4 separate regions of the Homo sapiens genome follow, and all the other regions are linked to region 3. Evidence: promoter capture Hi-C in 16 types of primary human blood cells and fetal thymus (Javierre and others, 2016). All regions are on one chromosome and are shown on one strand. Each heading gives the region's core, a stretch centred on a gene start or on the middle of the fragment in contact. The rest is flanking DNA. Distances are from core to core; before and after follow the strand shown. Region 1 overlaps POMGNT2 (protein O-linked mannose N-acetylglucosaminyltransferase 2 (beta 1,4-)). Region 2 has its middle 32 kb from the start of POMGNT2. Region 3 holds the start of SNRK-AS1 (SNRK antisense RNA 1). Region 4 has its middle 83 kb from the start of POMGNT2.

Region 1 (3,552 bases), core at 1,036-3,535, 250 kb before region 3:
AGGTTGAGGAGGTTGAGTGACTTGCCCAAGGTTACAACAGGTGTGAAGCTTAGGTCTTAACCTAGTGTTCTTGGACTCTAAAGACTGTGTTGAAAACCACCCTCAAGATACAGAAGATCCAGTCTTCATTAAAGTGGGGCAAGGGGCAGAGAAGAGAAAGAAACACCTCAGACATTCAGAGAACTCAATCAGGGAGGAGCGAGCCCAAATAAGGGCACGCACATCCCACCCTACTTTGCAGCCCAGTCCCCTCCTGGACCCATGACAATGACCAGAGAATGCCACTGGCTGACCAGCTGAAAGTCATCAGGCTATGGGGCAGGGAGAAGGGAAGATGAGTGAATGCTGGGTGGATGTGATCACAGTGCTCAGTGGTGAAACTCTTGAAGGAGACAAAAGGGATTCAAAGGGGACCCAACAACCTTGATCCTTATTTGTTTGCTTTCCTTTAGAAAAGCGGAGGTAATCAAACTAGGAAAAGCTGCCTCTTCCTATCACTCCTCTTACTCGTGCCCTAAGCGGAGTTTTGGCCCCTCCACTGCTCTGGGACCAGCAGCTGATTCCCGTGCTGTACCTCCCATCCCATCCTGCTACCAAGGATCCAATCGGCACCTGAAACTGATTCCCAGATTACCAACAACTATTAAATATGAACCCACTCTTACCTTGAAAAACACACTCAAAATCACCAGCCTCTAACACTTTATGTTCCAGGCAGTATACTGAACACTGTAGGTATATTTTCTCATTCAATCTTCAAACCAACATTAAGAGGCTAACACTATTTCTATTACTCCATTTTATAGATTGGGACACAGAGGCTGGGAGAAGCTAAGTAAATGTGTCCAAGTCCCTCAGCATGTACAGAATGGAGGCAGGATCTGAACATGGATTCTAAGCACTGTCTTATGTTAATAGCCCAGGCACCATTTGGACCTCACCTTCTTGGCATTCCAGGGCCACACAGACCAGGGTACTTCAACACCACCATGTTTATCTGCCTCTGCCTCCTCTATATTGGGCACCAAATTTAGAGACCAACTGGAGTGGGGAACAAAGGGCTTAGTGGCTCAGCCAGGACAAAGCATGATAAAACAAAAATTTTTTCAAAAGAAAGAGAAAAAAGAAATCAACAAGAGATTAAAAACATGCCTAGAAAATCCCTTTAGAAACTGAGGCAGACAGGAGGAAGCTACCAATTCACTCCCCCAAACCACTTTACTAAGCTCCCAAGAGCAGTTAAATGTTATCAGATCCCCAGACTTAGTGAATCCTCCTTTCTAGGATCCCAGCTGTTCCGAGCATCAGAGGATAATGTCAAAAATGCTGTTGCAACTGCAGACCCCAGTAACAGCTGGGCAGGTGGGGTGGGGCCACTTGCCTTGGGGAGCTCACCACGTGAGGGTGGTCATTGGTGCTGGGTGCAGGCTGTACTTCTGGGGGCCCTGGCCAGCCCCAGACACGGGCACAGAAAAGCCCATAAGGGCTTTAAGGTTTGATAAGGAGTAAAAGCTCCAGGAATTCTGGGCCCAGAGTAGGAGGTGCACACTCACATGCCTGCTAGGGCCGGAGCCAATGGAGAAAGTAAAGCTGAGGGTGGGCTGTGTGACCTGGAGACAGAACACCTAATGCCAGCTGATGAGAGAATGGCGGGAAAGCAGCCTGGTGGTACCTATCTGTATCAGTCTGCTTGGGCTCCCATAACAGAATACCAGACTGAGTGCCTTAAATGACAGAATTTTCTCACAGATCTGTCAGGGTTGGTTTCTGGTGAGGCTTCTCTTCCTGGCTTGTAGATGGCCTCTTCTCTGTGTGGTGGGGAGGGAGGAGAGGGGCAGGTGAGCAAGGGGGAAAGGGAGGGAGAAAGGAAGCCGGGAGAGGGAGGTGGGGAGAGAGAGAAACACTCTGATCTCTTTTCCTCTTCTTATAAGGACACCAGTCCTATCAGATTAGGGCCCCACCCTTATGACCTCATTTAAGCTTCATTATTAGGATGATCTATCTCTAAACACAATCACAGGGGGGTTAGATCTTCAACATATAAATGGGGGGAACATGATTCAGTCCATAGCAATACTCTTCTGATTTTCCCAGAGAAGCAAAAATCTATTTAAAATGTGAAATGTCCTCATTTGTAACTTCTGGCAATTATTCAAATTGAGTGAAGACAACGTGCACCAAGGCCTGGGGCTGCTGGCCTCATGGTTGCCAGTTAAAAACGGATGCTCATTTGCAAGCTCTGGTCTAAAGCAAATCCCCTGTCCTGCTGGCCTCACCATGGCCTGTGCCCGGGTTCCCAGTTTTGTGACTGCCAGAACCAGCAGCTCACCGGTCACTCCTCCACAAGAAGGGTTACAGAGGTGGAGGGACCAGACAGCCAGCACCTGCCAGACCCAGGCTGCAGAAGATCAGGCAGGGCCCAGGCCAGGAGGGGGTCAGCAACGGTGCAGAAGGTTTTATATTTTACTTTCACAGCAATTTGACTTTTAAGGATTGTTCACACTTCCAATTGAAAATTATAGAAATCTTATTTTGTCACTGAAAAGTGTTTTTGTCCTAAATGCAGCCTGAAGTACTAGTGCTAGATTGTGGAAGCTTTCAGTCCTGTATTGATTTGTTGTCTTACATGTTGTAAATTAGTAAGGAGTAAACATGTTTCACTAACTCAAGCTTATCCTCAGAATGATCTCTTTCCCCCTCCTTTTTTTTTGGTTATCTGAAGTAGTATATGGAACTGGTATTAATAACATAATGCTTACATTTGCTCCTAAATTAAATATTAACCTAATGCTATTGATAAATTCGGCATTTATAGATCAGGTTTTCTGACCAAGGTATTTATCCTTTGGCAAAATCTTGGCAGTCTGAGTGGTTCTTGTAAAACTTAACACATTTAATTATCAAGGCATATTTAACATTTAGTTAAGGGCTCACTTTCTTAGATTAAAACTTTGACATGGGTAGTATCTTCTTGCTTTAGAATAAAGAGCAAAGCAAAGTCAAAGCTGGAGACATTAATCCACCATCAATAGCTGATGACTGTGACTATATTGCCTTATCAATAGAAAAGGAACCCCTTCAAAGCAGGAAAAACTCCAACAGAATTCAAGTCTGTACTACTTTGGTGAGAAGGGTGATGTCAGTCTTTGCTGAGGATAAACCAAGGCTTGAGTGTGGGGCAGGACGTTCGGCCTTCCACCAGCTCATATGCAACCCTCTCACCGGTTTTCAGCCTCCAAATAACGCAGAAACCTTTGCTTGCCACACAGCCTGCCGTGTCATCTGGCTTTTGCTTAGCACAAATGGGTCACCTGGAAGTGACATGTGCCTGTATTGGTCCTCTCTGGCATCACTGTGTACCAGTGTGGTCATAAACGGGGATGAAACAGGGAACAGAACGGTGGGAACCTCTGTTGTGTGGCTCACAAAGGTAATGGAGAACACGCCTACACCAGGTTTTCTAGGTGGAACTACAAAATCAAATGAAAACAATTCTTACAGGGAATGCTCAGACCCCAGTGTGTACACAAATCCAGATGGACCCTCAGGCCC
Region 2 (3,575 bases), core at 728-3,227, 210 kb before region 3:
AACTTATTTTCTATCCTTTTTATTACAGTCATCCAAGTAGGTATGAATTGGTATCTCATGGTTTGATTTGCATTTCCTCAATGACTAATGATGTCAAGCACCTTTTTTTGTGCTTATTGGCTATATGTATACCTTCTTTAGATAGGTATACAACCTTTGCCATTCTTAATTGGATTATTTGTCTTTTTATTACTCAGTTGTAAGAATTCTTTAAATATTCTGGATACATGACCCTTGTCAGACACATAATTTGCAAAAACTTTCATTCTGTGGGTCATTTTTTCACTTCCTCGATAGTTATTCTGTCTTTATATTTGGCTTTTGGTAGTTTGAGTATGATGTGTATAGGTGTGGATGTTTTTGAGTTTACCCTACTTGGAATTTGTTGAGTTTCTTGGATGTGTAGACAGTTTTTAACCAAATTTGGGAACTTTTCAGCTATCATTCCTTCAAACATTCTTATGCCCCTTTTTTTCCTTCTTTGTCACTGTGACTCCCATTATATGTATGTTGATACGCTTGATGGTGTGTCTGTCTTAGTCCATTTGAGCTACTATAACAAAAAAACCATAGACTGGGTGACTTGAACAACAAACATTTCTTACTCACAGTTCTGGAGTCTGGGAAGTCCAAGATCAAGCTGCCAGTAAATATGATGCCTGGTGAGGGCCTACTTCCTGGCTTATAAACAACCGTCTACTCACGATATCCTCACATGGCAGAAGGGCAGAGACAGAAAGAAGGCTCTCTCATAACTCTTCTAAGGGCAATACGACAGCTCCACCCTTATGACTTCATCTAATCCTAATTACCTCCTAAAGGCCCTACCTCCTAACACCATCACTTGGGCGTCAAAGGGTTTCAACACATAAATTTGAGGGTGACAAACATTCAGTTCATAACAGTGTCACACATGTCTCTGAGGCTCTGTTCATTTTTCCTTGTTCCTTTTTCTGTTCCTCAGACTGAATAATTTCAATGGACCTATCTCTGAGTTTGTTGCTTATTTACTTCTGACAGCTCAAATCTGCTGTTTGGAACCTCTTATAAATTTTTCAGTTTGGTGATGGTACTTTTCAAATCCAGAATTTCTATTTGGTTCGTTTTTGTAATTTCTACCTTTTTCTTTATATTTTCTCTTTATTGAAACATTAGTCTCACACTTTATTTCTATAGGCCTGGTTTCCTTTAGTTCTTAGAACATTATTTATTTATTTATTTATTGTTTATTTATTTTTGAGACAGATCTCACTCTGTCATCCAGACTGGAGTGCAGTGGTGCAATCTCATCTCACAGCAAACCCCGCCTCCCAGGCTCAAGGGATCCTTCCGCCTCAGCCTCCCAAGTAGCTATGTGCCACCATGCCAGCTAATTTTTAGCCTTTTTTTGGTAGAGAGAAGGTCTCATTATATTGCCCAGGCTTGTCTCAAACTGGTTCTTAGAACATATTTTAAATAACTGATTTAAACTATTTTCTAGTAAGTACAATGCCTGGGCTTCCTTAGGGACAGTTTCTACCAATTGCCCATTTTTCCAGTGTATTAGTCATACTTTTTGTTTCTTACAATGTTTTGTTGAAATGTGGACATTTTAGATAATACAATATGGCAACTCTGAAAATCAGATGTCCTCTCCCAGTTTTTTTTTTTTAATTGTTGCTATTTGTTATTGTTGTTGTTTGTTTGTTTATGACTTTTTTTCAACTAATTCTGCATTAGTCTAAATCTTTGTTGTCTGTGGCCACTGGTGTCCCTGCTCTGTTACTTTGTTAGGTATGGGTTGGAAAGATATTTCCTCAAATATGTGGAACTTGTAGTCTCCCAGACTTTGCCAAGGGTGATGTACCTCTTCAACACTCAGATTGGCAGTTGACAATTCTGCCTTACCCTTCACTTTTTTCATGCAGAGCCTCAAGGTCAGACAGAGGTGAGAGCTTAGGGCTTTCACAGGTCTTCCCTTAACATGTACACAGCCCTGGCCATATGCACAGCTTTAGAGCACAGCCTGTAGATTTCCGGGAATAGGTCAGAGCTTTTCAAATCCTCTATGTGGACATCTCTTTCCTCAATTTTCCTTTTATGTTTTTGGTTAACCTATTGTTTGCCCTACTGTTATCCATTAGGCAGCTGCATAGTTTAATAGTTGATTCCCATCTTTTCCATAAATGCCCCTAAAGAAAAGGGGGTTCCACTGAATGACTTCTGAATCAGGTGAAATAAAGAGAGCTTTGCAAGTGATGTCTTCCAGGGAACAAAAATAAAAGCCAAATAATGACAATTCTCTGATACTAAACTTTGAAGGAGCTCTAACCCTGTTCTGTTCTGTTCTGTCCCCTTCAGTGGATGCCTAGCTGCTAGTGTTTTTTTACCATGATTGTAGGATGCTAGTTTTTAAGACTACTGCACATTAGGTATGGGAGGAGTCCCCCGCTTACCCACGGTTTCACTTTCCATGGTCAACCATGGTCTGAAAATAGGTGAGTACAATACAATAAGATATTTTGAGAGAAAGAAGAGATAAAGACAGAGAGCACATTCACATAATATTTGTCACAGTATATTGTTATGTGTTCTATTTTATGATTAGTTATCGATAATCTCTTACTATGCCTAATTCATAAATTAAACTTTATCATAGGCACATATATATAGGAAAAAAACATTGTATATATAGGATTGGAGACTATCTGTGCTTCAGGCATTCACTGGGGATCTTGGAACATGTCCTGGGAAGATAAGGGGGAACTAATGTGGAGCAAATTACATATCACCAAATTCACTGTTCTTACCAAGATTCAGCCGTTTTTCTTAAATTAATGCTTTCTGAATTGCCACAAGCCTTTTGTTAATTTCCAGAGTTCAGACAAAGTTTATTCTAATATTTTTTGCCAGTTTCTCTCTCTCTTTTTTTTTTTTTTTTTGAGACAGAGTCTCCAGACTGAAGTGCAGTGGTGTGATCTCAACTCACTGCAAAGTCTGCCTCCTAGGTTCAAGTGATTCTCCTGCCTCAGGCTCCCAAGTAGCTGGGACTACAGGCACATGCTACCACACCCAACAATTTTTTTGTATTTTTAGTAGAGATGGGGTTTCACTGTGTTAGCAAGTATGGTCTCGATCTCCTGACCTGTGATCCACCCGCCATGGCCTCCCAAAGTGCTGGGATTACAGACATAAGCCACTGTGCCTGGCCTTCTCATGGTTTTTATAGATGAGAGACTTTTAGATGTCCTTATTCCACCATTTTCATTGATGTCACTCCTGCAACATGTGGAAGTTAACAGTAACAAAATAGTCATTTATGTGAAAACCCTAACCAAAATGAAGTCAGAGAGGGCCATGAAGAAGAAGCTGTCAGACGTGATTTCCTGAAATGCCTGCCCTGCTTGCTCTATCTTGTAAACAGAGCAAGCAGAGCTCATCACAGGAATTTCCTCTGGCCTACAGTATTTCAGATAGTACCCTTGGACCAGGACAGTTGAACAGCAATGGCTTTCTTCCCTGATGGACTAACAGCAACTCCTGCAATGAGTGCCTGTAACCAATGAGCTTTCTTTCAAAGCAGTTTGCATGGTCTT
Region 3 (3,983 bases), core at 1,316-3,815:
TTTCCATGTAGATAGAAGAACTATAGGGCCTAGTACAGAAGGTGCACACAAATGTTGGCAAAGTCAAAACCCCATGAATTAAAACCTACTGGAATTTGGTTTTTAGGAGTTTGGTAATTAGATTATCTCTTTTGTTATTTTCATTCAGTTATATCCTTTGGCTCAGCTAGCTTTGAAATTGGCTGATGAAAAAATATACATAAAAGGGTAAAATTCACACATACAGCAAACAAAAATGCACAAAGCCTGCTTCGTAACTTTTTTTTCTGGAATTGTTTTTCACTTTGCCTTTTTCTGCCAAAACAATAATCAAAGAACTCTTGCTTTAACCTATTCCTGTACAAAGACTGTTTTTGACCAGATAATCATCTGTTGTGGCATTCTATCTTGTAGGACACTGTATATTGCAAATTGCTGATTATGGAAGGGGCCAGTTGCTGTTTTTTCATGCAGTGCCCTGGGAGTCTTAAAAGCAGTGCTTAGCAACATTGGTGATAGCATGTGGCTGGGACCCAGGGCCCTTCCCCACTCTTCAGCCCCGAGTCATGTGTCTGAGGTGACGGACTGAGACGCATCTGGTCCTGTAATTCAGAGAGTGGGCACATCACCAAAGAACTGCATTGCTGTGGTCACTGTTTCTTCAAGTACACACTGACTCTGCTACTTTAGGATAAATATATTTTACTCAGAACTCTGAATTTCACAGTATACTTACTAAACTAAGTAAAAATGATACTTAAAATACTTATTTTACTTTCTAGACCTAGGCTAGATGTTTTAAGCTACAGCTCTAGTTCATTGTGATATTTATAATTTGAAAGCTATGAGAATAGATGTGTGGGTGAAGCCATAGAACATATTTGCTTGAAATTCTTGAGCAGGGATCTTATAAAGGGCCAGAAATAAGATGTGTGGTTCACATAGATAGTGAGCGTAACATCTGTATTAAACATAGGAGAGAAGTTTATAAAGGGCATTGGCAATAAACTCTTTGTTGCAGCTGTTTTCCAAGCAGTGTAAATACTTTTTCCTGTGATTATGTATAGCCTTGGAATGGCACCTTTTAACTAACCCATATGTGTTTGGTTTCAATGGTTTTTTATATTCAGATGTATATATGGTGCTCACTTTAGGATCAGCAGTGTTGACCATTTATGCTGCATAGCTGTATTATAGCCTTATTAGTTGTGTGGTTGACCCTTGGGGTATACAAATGTCAGTCTGAGTGGTGTCTTACTCCTTTGTTTATAAGTGAATGATTGTGCATGTTTTGTATGTCATAGTATGTCGTCACATAAAAGGGAGGGAGCGAAAAACCATTACATTAAGATAATATTGGACCAAACTACTTACTTGCTCTAAACAGTTACTTGTACCCCTTAACCTGTCTTCAAAAGTTGCATATAGTTACAGTAGTGTATAAATTAAATATTGTGGAAAAACAGTCTTGTATTTTTCTGTATGTGTGTATATATATATAATTATGTACTTCTGGCAATTCTATCTGTATTTAAAGATGTGACAATCTTGACACCAATTTTAAGAATAGCTGTGAGACCGAATTAAAGATAATCCCTACCAAGTGAAAATTGATGTGTGTTAAGAGGGTACAGAATTATCAACTGATTTGGTCAGTTGCTTCCAATGCTGGTTGATTTCCCTCATTGTGTAAACATTGACAGGTATGTGACAAATGGGAAAAAAAATCCAAATAATAAAGTGACATATTGGTGTTCAGCAATATAAACCGTGTCCTGTGTTGTATTGCTTCTCATGAGTGTAGCTTTGTGTGATCCCACCTCAGTTAGACCCAGCCTTCTCCATGCCCTGTGCCTGCACCACCAGATTTGGCTGAAAAAGTACAGTCATTATTATGTTTAAACTCATGGCTACAAATCATAGGTGGGGCCAGGGTGCCCATTAAGTATACTTACTTTATTTCTCTATTTCATCTCCTTTCCTCACTCTGCTGGTCACCATGCTGCCTAATTGAATAAAGGGAAGCAATGAGAACTGCCACAAGTTCCCACCTCTGCCTTCCTCCCTTCCTTCATACACATTCACATGCTCTGCCCTTCCTCCTGTTACTGTGATTCCAAGGTCAGCTACTCTTACTCAGTTCTCACAACCATTACCATAATTGACTTTTACAACCCCCCCCCGCCCGCCAAAGAAATCTTGTGCCCTTTGGCATACTTTACCTTGTCCGCAACTCCCTTTACTCCAGCCTCATGCAACCACTTCCTGTGATCAATTTTCAATCCCATGTTAGAATTTGATGAATTGCTCACTTTCTTCCTTATGAACTTCCCATCTTTCAGTATCTCACTTCTGCCTTGCTGCTCTTCATGTCCACTGGTCCTTCCTCATTCTTCCAACCTCTAAATTTGGAATGTCCCAATGTTCAATTCTGGACCCCTGCTCTATCTGCAGTGACTCCTGATCTCAGTTAGTCTAGTATCTATATGCTGATAGAAGCCCAAAATATATTTAGCCCACATACCCTGGGAACACTGGATTTCAACTATCTATTTGACTTTTCTTCTTGGATGTGTCTGTGTGTCTACAGCATCTCAATTTTTACAAGTTCAAAACCCCTAATCTTTCCCCTCAAATCCTTTTACTAGCGCACCCATCTTAATAAATATCAACTCCTAGCCTTCAATAGTTTCATTCAAGCTGAAAATCTTGGTGTCATCCACTTTTTCATCCCAACATTCAGTTTATGAGCAAATCTTAACTTGCCTTTCACAGTTGACTCCTTCTCATTGCCACCACCACTACCACTCTAGTCCATGACACTCAACTGTAAATGCCTCTTAAAGGGTTTCCCTGCATTTGCCCTTGTCTTTCTCATTTATTTTCCACTTAGCAGTATGAGAGATCATTTTAAAGGCTAAATCATACCATGTTTTGAAACGTGTTTAGTTTCCAAATATTTGGGGTTTTCCCACATAGGTTTCTATAATTTTTAGTTTAATTCTATTTTTATCAGTGCATGCTTTCTATAGTTTAAATCTTTTGAAATTACTGAAACTTGTTTTATGGCCCAACATACGACCTATCTTGGTGAATGTTTCCTGAGTGCTTGGAAAGTGCTATTGGTGGAGTGTCCTATACATGTCAGTTCGTTCAAGTTGGTTGATAATGTTCAAGTTTTCTATATTCTTACTGATTTTCTGTCTCAATTATTGAGAGAGGAGTGTTGAAATCTCCAACTATAGTTGTGGATTTGTCTATTTCTCCTTTTAGTTCTAGCAGTGTTATTTTAGAAAATTTGAAGCTCTGTTGTTTGGTACATAAGCATTTAAGATTGTTACGTCATATCAATGAATTGATCCCTTTCCTCATGAAATGTTCCTTCTTTATGACTGGTAAACTATTTGTTCTGAAATCTACTTTGTGTGATAGTGATACAGTAACTCCAGCTTTTTTTTGACTTGTGAGAATATATCTTTTTCCATTCTTTACTGTTAACCTATTGTGTCTTTATGTTTAAAGTTTGTTTTTTGCAGATATCATATAGTTCGAGCTTGCTTTCTTATCCCATCAGCAAATGTCTGTCTTTGATTGAGGGTTTAGATGTATTACATTTAGTGTAATTGTCAATATGGTTGAGTTTAAACCTACCTAGTTTTCTATTTGTCTCGTCTGTTCTTTTTCCCTCTTTTGCTACCTTGTTTTGGTTTAACTGAGCACCTTTTGTTACTCCATTTTATCTCCGCTATTGGCTTATTGGCTGTAACTCTTGTTTTTCAGGGGGTGCTATAAGATTTGCAATACATGTATTTTATTATATCACAGTCTATCTTAATATATCACTTCATGTAGAATATAAAAACCTTACAACTGTATGCCTCTATTTTCCTCTTCCTGTTCCTTATACTACTGTTGTCATACATTTTATTTTTGTATATGTATAAATATTGTTTTAACTAGTTTTTAAGGGATTAAACAGGGGGGGGGGGAGTATTTTAGCTACA
Region 4 (3,828 bases), core at 511-3,010, 160 kb before region 3:
CAAGGGAAGGTGGGAACCCCCTCCCTGTTCTGGAGGGCCATCTTCCTGGTCACAGCAAGACACTCCCTTAGTTTTATCCGTGAGAAGCTGAAAACCCTTCAGCAGCTTCTATTCCCACTACTACACAAATCGTCCTGTGACCAGGGGTGTAAGCAGCCAAGTTTTTTCATGGGGCTGTGTACAAGAATTCCCTTTTCTCTACATCCTTACCAACACTTTTATTTTATCTTTTTGATAACAGCCATCCTAACAGGTATGAGGTGATGCCTCATTGTGGTTTTAATTTGCATTTCTCTGATGATTAATAATGTTAAGCATTTTTTCCATATACTTGTTGGCCATTTATATGATTTTAAGAAAGGAGAAAGGAAGAAAGGAAGGAAGGAAAGAAAGGAAAGAAAGGAAAAGAAAGGATAGATTATTGATTTTGAAATGTTAATTTTGTATCCTGCAACTTTACTGAATTTATTAGTTCTAATAGTTTTTTGTGAAGTCTTCAGGGTTTTTTAATAGATGGTATCACCTGCAAACACAGACAATTTTGCTTCTTCCTTTCAATTTGGATGCCTTTTATTTCTTTTTCTTTCCTATTGCTCTGGCTAGGACTTCCAGTAAGTACTTTACTAAATAGAAGTGGTGAGAGTGGACATCCTTATCTTGTTTCCAATCTTAGAGGAAAAGCTTTCAACTTTTTCCATTGAGTATAATATTAGCTGTGGACTTGTCACATAGGGCATTTGCTATGTTGAGGTACATTTTTTCTATCTATAATTTTTGAGAGTTTTAATCATGAAAAGATGTTAAATTTTGTCAAATGCTTTTTCTGCATTTATTGAGATGCAGAAAATCTCATTATTTTAATTCTTCATTCTGTCAATGCGGTATGTCATTTATTAATTTGCGTATGTTGACCCATCCTTACATTCCAGAGATAAATACCACTTGATTGTGGTGTATGATCCTTTAACATGCTGTTGAATTTGGTTTGCTAGTATTTTGTTGAGGATTTTTGTTTCTATGTTCAGCAGAGATATTGGCCTGTAATTTTCTTTTCCTGTAGTATCCTTGTCTGGCTTGGTATTAGAGTACCAAACCAAATCACTCAGGCACAGAGAAACAGCATGGAATTCTGGCAAAAGAACCACCATGCTTGCCTCTACCCAGCTGGCAGAGGCCTCTACTCACTCTTGAAAATGCACTTGCCTTTGTCATATACAGAAAGCCCATATATAACCATCCCTTCCCATTAGTTCTCTTCAGTCCATCAGCTAACACACAATGAGATGAAGTTCTAAGGTACCCAGCATAGTCCCAGGGTTTGTGGGAGACACAGAGGTCCACTATGGGAGCTCATAGCCTGCAAGGTAAACTAACTTATTTGTCTATTCTCTTTGTCCTTTGCACATTGGACTACGTCAATGACATCTGTTACATAATTTTCAAAATGTAACCAGTGTTGAAAACCTGCCTGCCCTTTAAACCAGCAAATCCAATTCCAGGAATTTAGCTTAAGGAAATTGTAAAAAATATGAACCAATTTATCTAAAAGAAGGTTTAGGTATTTTTTTTAATAGTAGAAAAGGATTGGAAGCAAACCAGATAACCAACAATAAGAGACAGGTTATTAAAAGATGGGTATACCACACAATGGAATGACATTTGTCCATTAAGGCAATTTTAAAAGTATATGTATTAGAAGGAGAGTCTTGATGTTTTAGGTGAAAGGAGCAGTTATAAAATATGCTATAAGCATACTGTATAATCCATCTGTGTGTCTGTGTGTGCCCACATGTGCGTGCACATCTCTTTGCATATTGATATCTACACATGACATAGTGGTTTGTTTTTCATTGTCTTTGTAAGAGCTGTGCCAGGTTCCCCTTGTTCACCACTGGAAGAGTGAATCACCACTTCCAAGGATGCTAAAGGAGTCTTTTGTCTTTTAGAAGTTATGTTGATGAAGGTTTGAAAGTGAGGATAGCTTATCCCCATAAGATGTTTCCATCCAAGTGGAGACAGCACCCCTGATATGGCACTTCTGGACTCTCTCCACCCTCTTCAGTCCCCCTGCCCTGGAGGGAGAGGTTATTCTGATTGTGAGTTTGGGAGGAGAAGCTGGACAGCACAGCCCAGAACTTCTTGGGTCTACTCACCCATGTTGTACATCTCATAGGGACCGGATCCTTGGTCCAACTCTGCCATGTTTGGGTGGGTGAGATGCCTAATTCAGGGGTTCAGCACTTGGAAAGACATGAAGCCAACGATGAGCCTTTCTCCAACATCTGCTTTATCTGTATAAGTGGCATTCTGGCTTTCATCTGCCTTATTACTCCTTTGTTTTATTTCTTAACGGGTTCAGAATTGGTTCAATTATTTCTTAATTGGTTCAAGTGAGAAAGTGAGAAAGGGGATGTCATTCACTGGGCCCCCTTCAAACACCTTAACATTCAGGGTCTTCTCTTGGAGGTAACACTATACTGCAAGAAAGGGAGTGGAATCAACTCATTTTGTTTCAAGGTTTGAAAGCTAAGCTGACTGATCCCTGGGGGCTTATCCATGGTGAGGGGAAGGAAACTGAGAACTGGACATCCAAAGGATTCTGACTGTGCACTGCAAGAGCAGGTGGAGTTGTGTGGGGTTGGTCGTGCATGGGACTATGAATAGTGACCTTGAGATCCTAGCTTTGGGTGCCCTTGACCATCATGCACTGGAGGAATTTGGGCAACTTGAGCAGGAGGTACAAGGAGTGAGGTCATCAAGGAATACTCCTCAGCCATATCTATCTGACCACAAATGTTCATCTTTCATCTGTGATGTGAGGTGGTCACTAAAGGCAAGAGAAGCTTGCTGTAGTCAAATATTAAGGGTCAGAGCTCTTCCCACTTAAGAATGGAAATTGTACCATTTTTGTACAAACTCAGGGTCAGTTTCTGGGCCACCCAGGGATCTGGGGTTGCCCCAAGAAGAAGAGGTCATTCTTCCTTTTAATCTAGGACCCACTCCTTGAAACTTTTCTCTGTCTACATGCACGTCCTTAATAATCTTGTGGCTTTAAATATCAATATTTTGGTTTCAAAACTCAGATTTGTATCTCTAGCCTCAGCCTCTTCCCAAACCCCAGACTGCCTCTTGACATCCAATTTGGCTATGTATCATCTCAAACTTAAAATTTTAAGACCAACTTCTAATCTGTCTACTCAAGCCCCACACTCCCACAGTCTTTCCCATCTCAGAAAATGGCAGCTCCATTCCCTGGTTGCCTCAGGATAATCTTGGAGTCACCTCTGACCTTTCTTCCCTGTCTCATATTTCTACTAGGAAATCCCGTCAGTTCTACCTTCAAATATATCAAGACTCCATCTCATCTCGCACCTGTAATGTCCTCCTGGTCCAAGTAATCATTGTCCCTCACCTGGATTATTGCAATAGCCTCATAACGGGTCCCCCTGTTCCTACCTTTTCCTGCCTGTAGTTTATTCTTAGGGTTAAGTCATGTTACTGCTCTGCTCTAATCCTCCAATGCTTCCCTATCATGATCAGAGAAAAGTCAAATCCTTCTACCACCCCTCAAGGCCCTACACAGTCAGACTTGGTGACCTTCCTATCTCATCTCCAACTCCCTCCTACCACTGACACGCTCTCTTCCAGCCACCCTGATCTCCCTGTGCTTCCAAGGACATGCCAGGGCTTTTGCATGTGCTGTCCCTTCTGCTGGAACCCTCTTACCTCCGTCTCCAGATGGTTCAATCCTTTCTCTCCTTCAGGCCATTGCTTTCAGGCTTTTGCTGAGCACTCATCTTAAACTGAAGCCTGCTTGACACTCCCAAA

What was found. Contacts are between HindIII fragments. The CHiCAGO score rates a contact against its expected background, and 5 or more counts as called.
Region 1: a contact is called between a fragment that was not itself captured here and the fragment with the promoter of SNRK-AS1 in region 3, in 2 of 17 cell types (naive CD8 T cells and non-activated CD4 T cells). The highest score is 5.7, in naive CD8 T cells.
Region 2: a fragment that was not itself captured here is called in contact with the fragment with the promoter of SNRK-AS1 in region 3 in 1 of 17 cell types (non-activated CD4 T cells); the score reaches 5.0 in non-activated CD4 T cells.
Region 4: a fragment that was not itself captured here is called in contact with the fragment with the promoter of SNRK-AS1 in region 3 in 5 of 17 cell types (naive CD8 T cells, non-activated CD4 T cells, total CD4 T cells and 2 more); the score reaches 9.6 in naive CD8 T cells.

Annotation. Positions count from the first base shown.
Region 1 is chr3:43,095,656-43,099,207 of GRCh38, forward strand. All of the region lies in intron 1 of POMGNT2 (protein O-linked mannose N-acetylglucosaminyltransferase 2 (beta 1,4-)), which reads right to left. Among named protein-coding and RNA genes, the nearest start is that of POMGNT2, 8.6 kb to the right of the region's middle. RefSeq lists enhancers at 1,821-2,321, 2,322-2,822. The HindIII fragment of the contact is 615 bases long and covers 1,979-2,593 here.
Region 2 is chr3:43,136,263-43,139,837 of GRCh38, forward strand. No RefSeq gene overlaps it. Among named protein-coding and RNA genes, the nearest start is that of POMGNT2, 32 kb to the left of the region's middle. The HindIII fragment of the contact is 6,011 bases long and covers 1-3,575 here.
Region 3 is chr3:43,349,397-43,353,379 of GRCh38, forward strand. It overlaps SNRK-AS1 (SNRK antisense RNA 1), which reads right to left and starts at 2,566. Exons shown (of 3, transcript NR_046757.1): 1 at 2,202-2,566; 2 at 1,935-1,985; 3 at 1-581. It overlaps SNRK (SNF related kinase), which reads left to right. Exons shown (of 7, transcript NM_017719.5): 7 at 1-1,747. The HindIII fragment of the contact is 8,620 bases long and covers 1-3,983 here.
Region 4 is chr3:43,186,900-43,190,727 of GRCh38, forward strand. No RefSeq gene overlaps it. Among named protein-coding and RNA genes, the nearest start is that of POMGNT2, 83 kb to the left of the region's middle. The HindIII fragment of the contact is 2,162 bases long and covers 680-2,841 here.